2 separate regions of the Homo sapiens genome follow, and region 2 is linked to region 1. The links are contacts of gene promoters, found by promoter capture Hi-C in blood cells and fetal thymus (Javierre and others, 2016). All regions are on one chromosome and are shown on one strand. The core of a region is centred on a gene start or on the middle of the fragment in contact, and the rest is flanking DNA. Distances in the headings are between cores, read along the strand shown.

Region 1 (2,837 bases), core at 241-2,740:
GCTGTTCTGTGTAAAATTTTGTTGATTTTTTAGGTGGAGCTTGAAGATAAAGGTTATTTGCAATTTGTGTTGCCTTAAACATATAAAACTACATATAAGTTGCACTTCCATGGCAGAAAGGATGGTTGGAACACTTGTCCAGGCTATATTTCTATGTTTGTGTCTCATTCAGCACATTTTGTAATTGGATAGGTTTTGTACGTGTGAGAAAGTTGGGATATGACATTTGCATTGGGAGATTTGAGATTGCTTGAAAATCCAGATTTAAAGTTGCTTGAAATCCACTCTCTTCTGTTATTACCTCTCTTCTGGTATTACGTCTCTTCTGGTGTTGATGGGAAACTGTGTTTAGGTTGCCATAGATCATGAGGGCATGCTAGTGCAGTGGTAGCAATTGTTCAGTCAGTGGGCATTCCATGATCACCTGCTGTGTGCAGGTTTCAATGGGCCTTGTATACTGTACTGACGGATTTGCACTTGATTTAGTATTCATTGTGGAGTTACAGTCAGGTTAAAAGCAGGAAATGACATGATCATGTATGTTGCAGTTGGAACTGACTGGTGGCGGGAGGCTACTTAAAAAGTTATTTCAGTGGTTTTTATGAGATCTGAGAAATACAGGAGGGGATAGTTTGTGGAAAATATTACGTAAATGATCAAAAAGCAGGAGTGGCAGATGAACGAATCACTTGAGGGGTCAAAGGTGGTAATGGCATGATACTGTTGACTTCGTCAGCTTAATAAAATATACACACTGAGCAACATAGTGAGAATGCATTTCTACAAAATATTGAAAAATTAGCCAGGTGTGGTGGCACATACCTGTAGTCCCAGCTACTTGGGAGGCTGAGGTGGGAGGATTACCTGAGCCTGTGGAGGTCAAGGCTGCAGTGAGCCAGGATTGCAGCACTGCACTTCAGCCTGGGCAACAGAAAGAGACCCTGTCAAAAAAAAAAAAAAAAAAAAAAAGAAAATGTACAAACACTCTTAGAGAGGGTTGACAATCAGTAGATGAATTAGGATGTAAGATACTGGTAGTAGGAGAGAGGTGGTAGGCTAACAGGGATAACTTAAACCCACTTAACCTAGGTATGCTGTGGCAATCATATCCTTCTGTCTCACGTATGACTTCATGTGTTTTACAGAAAAAATAGAGGCCATCAAGCGGTAGCTCCTTCATCTTGCTGACAGCAACCTCGTTCTTGCATTTGTACCTGTTCTCACTCCCATCATTAACCTGTTGTGTAGGGCAATGGTCCCCAACCTTTTTGACACTTTTGGAAGACAATTTTTCCATGGACCAGGAGTGCAGGGGATGGTTTTGGGGTGATTCAAGCGCATTACATTTATTGTACACTTTATTTCTATAATTATTACATTGTAATACATAATGAAATAGTTATAAAATTCACCGTAATGTAGAATCAGTGGGAGCTCTGACCTTGTTTTCTTGCAACTAGACAGTCCTGTCTGGGGGGTGATGGGAGACACTGACAGATCATTCAGCATTAGGTTTTCATAAGGAGTGCCTAACCTAGATCCCTCGCATGTGCAGTTCACAGTAGGGTCCATGCTCCTATGAGAATCTAGTGCTGCCACTGATCTGACAGGAGGCGGAGCTCCAATACAGAGTGGCTGTGAATACAGGCTGCGCTCCTCCTGCTGGGCCACCCGGTTCCCCACAGGTAGTTGGGGACGCTGGTGTAGGGGTCTTTCCTTCCTCCTGAGGTCTGCCTCCCATGCCTGGATCCGGTGCCCTCTCCCTTCTCAGGACCCTGTTATTCCCACCCTCTCCACACTTCTTCCCATTGGCTTTCAGACACACTCCTATTTTAGTTTCTTCTACTGGACCCTCCAACCTCCAGTTAAAGCCCATCGCTCTCTTCCATCTCACAGCCAAATGCTCACAGCCAAATGTTGTCTTTACTTTCTCTCCCTTCACTCTTAAATTCACTTCACTCTGGTTTCTGGCCCCATCATTCCACTAAAGACTTCTCACCAAAGTTAACTAGATGGAAGTCGATCCACCAGACCTTCTCTGCTTCCTTCCCTGACCTCAGTAGATCAAATGCTCCCTTCATTTGCTTTCTGAAACCTGGTGCTTTCTGGTTATCTTTTGGCCTCTCTGGTCTCCTTGTCTCTTTTGCATAATCATTCTCCTCCTAGCCATTAATTGGTGGGTTATGGACTCAGCCACGTGTCTGTTCCTTTTCACATGCTGTGCACTTTCCGCAGGTGACCCACTTCATGCAGCTTCAATGACCACGTGTAGACAGGTGAAAGGTTCATACTTCTGGCCCAAATACCTTCTTATCTGCAACCCCATGTGCACAGCGCCTTGACATCTCTTCTTGGCTATCTCTGTGGCACCTCAAACTCGGCATATTTAAAACTGAATTTGTTGGGGGAAGATGAAAAAAACCAACCTTCTCTCAAACTTGGCTCTCTTCTGGTATTACCTATCTCAGGTAATACTAGACCTGAGGTAATCCATCCATCTGGTTGTGAGTCAGATGTTATCAAGGAGTCATCCTTGATAACACCTCTCTCCTTCACATTCTTGAAATCCAACCTGTTACTAAGCCTTAGGATTTCACTTCCCAAATATCTCTGAAATTTGTCTACTTCTCTCCATCTCCTCTTTTCCCACTTTCTGACTCATCATTATCTCTGGCCATTATAATCTAGTGGCTTCTTACTGTAGTCCCCTGGCATCCATTCTTGCCTTTTTCTAGTCCGTGTTCTACATCACAGGCAGGGTGCCCTTTTCAAAACGCATCTCGGTGCTTGTATGTAACAGGTGCTTGTATGTAATCAGACTGCCACCTGTATACACC
Region 2 (2,837 bases), core at 209-2,708, 1.1 Mb before region 1:
TTCCACAGCCCACAGGTGCAGGTTTACCTCTATACATACGAATATTTCATAGATGCTTCTCCCCACTAACCTAGAAGCCCCAGCAGAAGTGAGGACCATGTTTCCTTGTGCATGCCACTGTAAACCCAGGGCCCAGTCCAGAATGAGGGCTCAACAGATGTTTATAGAAGGAGTGAAGATTTAGAGAAATCGAAAAAATTTTAGATCTTACAAGGCCCTTGCATCTAAACACTCCTCCAATTATGGCTAAAAAATGAGGAGCTATAGAAAACTGTCCTATTTAAATTTTGTTTCTAAAAACATTCATTTTGGCTTCTTTTAAAAAAGTTACTCAATTACTGAACAGATCACTGGTGTGGCCTGTTGAACACAGTGCTGTAACTTCCTGCACAAGAGACAAGTCTGAAAGTTTTGCTTTCCGCTGTGAAAGCATTGGTGACTGCTTGACAGACTCGCTTGAAGCAAATAATGTGTTTTTGGTTAAAAAAAAAAAGTATAAACGCCTAATAACAAAATAGGCATATTTTTGGCTAGAATTTTTTTTTCCAAGGAAAAACCTCCAGCTCATTTTGCTGCCTAAGCCAAAACAGATGCTCCCACTAAGTTGGTGGTGGAACAGACCCAAAGATTCCAATAATGACATATATAACGTGTGTCAACAAGAAAACAAGTGTAAAATCTGCAAACGAGTCCCCAGCTAAGGCGAAATCTTGACAACGCTACTCTGAGGTGAGCGATCCCCTCCCTCCTCCGGGGTTAGGAGTGGCCCAGGAGAGGCGGCGGTGACACGCGCTCTGCGGCCCGGCCGTGTCCCTCTCGGCGCCCCGGGACCCCGCGTGTGGAGAAGGAGAGGCCCGGCGGAGGGAAGTGGCCGGGGAGGACCCTACCTGCCAGCCTCCGGCGCTCAGGGTACGCCAGCCCCAGGAGCTTCCGGGCCTCCGGGAGTCCGGCCGCTGCGGGGCGCAGCCGCCCCTTGTCCCCGGGAGGCGCCGCCGGCCCGCGCCGCCAGGCCTCGTCCCCTGCCCAGGCAGCGGCTGCGGGACCGCCCGGGAACCGGGCGCGCGGGAGCCGAGGAGCGCCTGGCCCGGCAAAAGCCCCGCACCTGCAGCTGCCGGGGCCGCGAGCCCACAGCCCCAGGAGCCGCGCGAGGCCCAGGACGCCCCGCGAGGCGCCCGGACCCCCGCCCCGGCAGCCGCTCCTCCAGCGGCGCGCGGCTCCAACGCCCCAGAGCAGCGCGGGCCCCGCGCCCCATAGCCGCGCCGGCCTCAGGCCAGTGAACGGCGATAGGGACCCGGGAACGCGGCTGGCCGCGGCCCACACGCAGGCTACCGGCAGGAGCCGACCTGGCTCGGCAGGGCTCGGTGGCTCGAGCAGCCGCAGCGGCCAGGCAGGGGGGCCTCGCATGGCGCTGCGTGCGACCCGTACGCCTCAGCCCGCCGGCCAGGCGCGCGCAAAGCCCGAGGACCCTCCCGGCCCGGCCCCGAGCAAAGGGCGTGGACGCGGTGGCGCCCGCCCCTCCCCGCTGGCTGTCACCCGCCTTATCGTGCCTGCACCCTCGGGCTGCGCCCGCCCCCGCCCCATCCTCGTCCGCGCGGTGCCGCGCCTCTCCGCCCCACTCCGGGGACTGCAGCTACCCGGACCTTGCAAGCCACCCTTCCGAGCGCCCCCAACCCGCTCGGGTGCCCTCCCTGCAGCGCCCCCAACTGCCCGCTGGCGGAGGAGCGCCGGGCGCGCCAGCTGGGACGAGGCCCGGGAAGCCCAGGAGCACGGCTGCGCCTGCGTACTGGGCGCAGGGAACTTTTTCGCGCTTCGCCGTCCCCTCTGGTCTGAACTTGGGAACGACACGAGCTCTTTCTCACGCCGGCAGACCGGGCGGAGCGCGCAGACGCGACCACACGATGGCCGGCACAAAGATGGGGCGGGAGGACAGCGTGCTGGATACGGCGTGGGGCGGGTCCGCGGCCCGGGAGACCCATGCTGGGGCGGCCCTGTCACTCGTCTCGCTGCCAAGCACAGGGCTGAGGTGCGGAGGGACCACTGAGAGGACTTCGCTGCGTGTCAGCTCAGCTCTGGACGGCGTGGAGGAGGTGGTTGGCGAATAGTGAAATGTATATAACTTTGAGAAGGGAAGAGATCGTTTCTTTTTTTTCTTTTTTTTTTTTTTCTTGAGACGATCTCGGCTCACTGCAACCTCTGCCTCCCAGGTTCAAGTGATTCTCCCTTCTCAGCCTCCCAAGTAGCTGGGATTACAGGCATACGCCACCACACCCGGCTGATTTTGTATTTTTAGTAGAGACGGGGTTTTACCATGTTGGTCAGGCTCTTTTCGAACTCCTGACCTCAGGTGATCCGCCCGCGTCAGCCTCCCAAAGTGCTGGGATTGCAGGCGTGAGCCACCGTGCCCGGCCTGAGATCGTTTCTTAACTAGAGCAGAAATTTGAAGACAGGCGTGGTCGAGGCATTCCCGCTGTTCGAAGTGGAAAACACTAATCAGAAGGCAATGCATCTTAATACACGTGCATGGAAAGACAGGAGAGAACATTAAAACTCACTGGGACACTTTATGGAGACTTCATGGGGGCGGGGGGGGATATGTACCTGAGGTCCAGTGAGTCGTGGGTAGATTTTTGTAGACTCCTAGGTATTTTTACTGGACCTGGACAGGGTACTGTCAGTTGCAAATTTTATGGGTTCACAAAATAAAAAAACCTCAATAATCAACATAAACATTTTAGTGCAATATTTTTAAAAATCAAAATTAATTTAAAAAATCCGTAATGAACAAAATATAAAAAATTTTGATTGAGTATCCACTCCTGACCTTTCACAATCCTGCC

What was found. The method cuts DNA at HindIII sites, captures the fragments that hold promoters and counts their contacts. A CHiCAGO score of 5 or more calls a contact.
Region 2: the fragment with the promoter of ABCB10 here is called in contact with a fragment that was not itself captured in region 1 in 1 of 17 cell types (total B cells); the score reaches 5.6 in total B cells.

What each region holds. Positions count from the first base shown.
Region 1 is chr1:230,644,288-230,647,124 of GRCh38, forward strand. All of the region lies in intron 1 of COG2 (component of oligomeric golgi complex 2), which reads left to right. Among named protein-coding and RNA genes, the nearest start is that of COG2, 3.2 kb to the left of the region's middle. The HindIII fragment of the contact is 5,232 bases long and covers 1-2,837 here.
Region 2 is chr1:229,557,249-229,560,085 of GRCh38, forward strand. ABCB10 (ATP binding cassette subfamily B member 10) reads right to left here and starts at 1,459. Exons shown (of 13, transcript NM_012089.3): 1 at 888-1,459. The coding sequence starts at 1,404. RefSeq lists silencers at 669-1,118, 1,179-1,878 and an enhancer at 2,049-2,238. The HindIII fragment of the contact is 4,467 bases long and covers 1-2,837 here.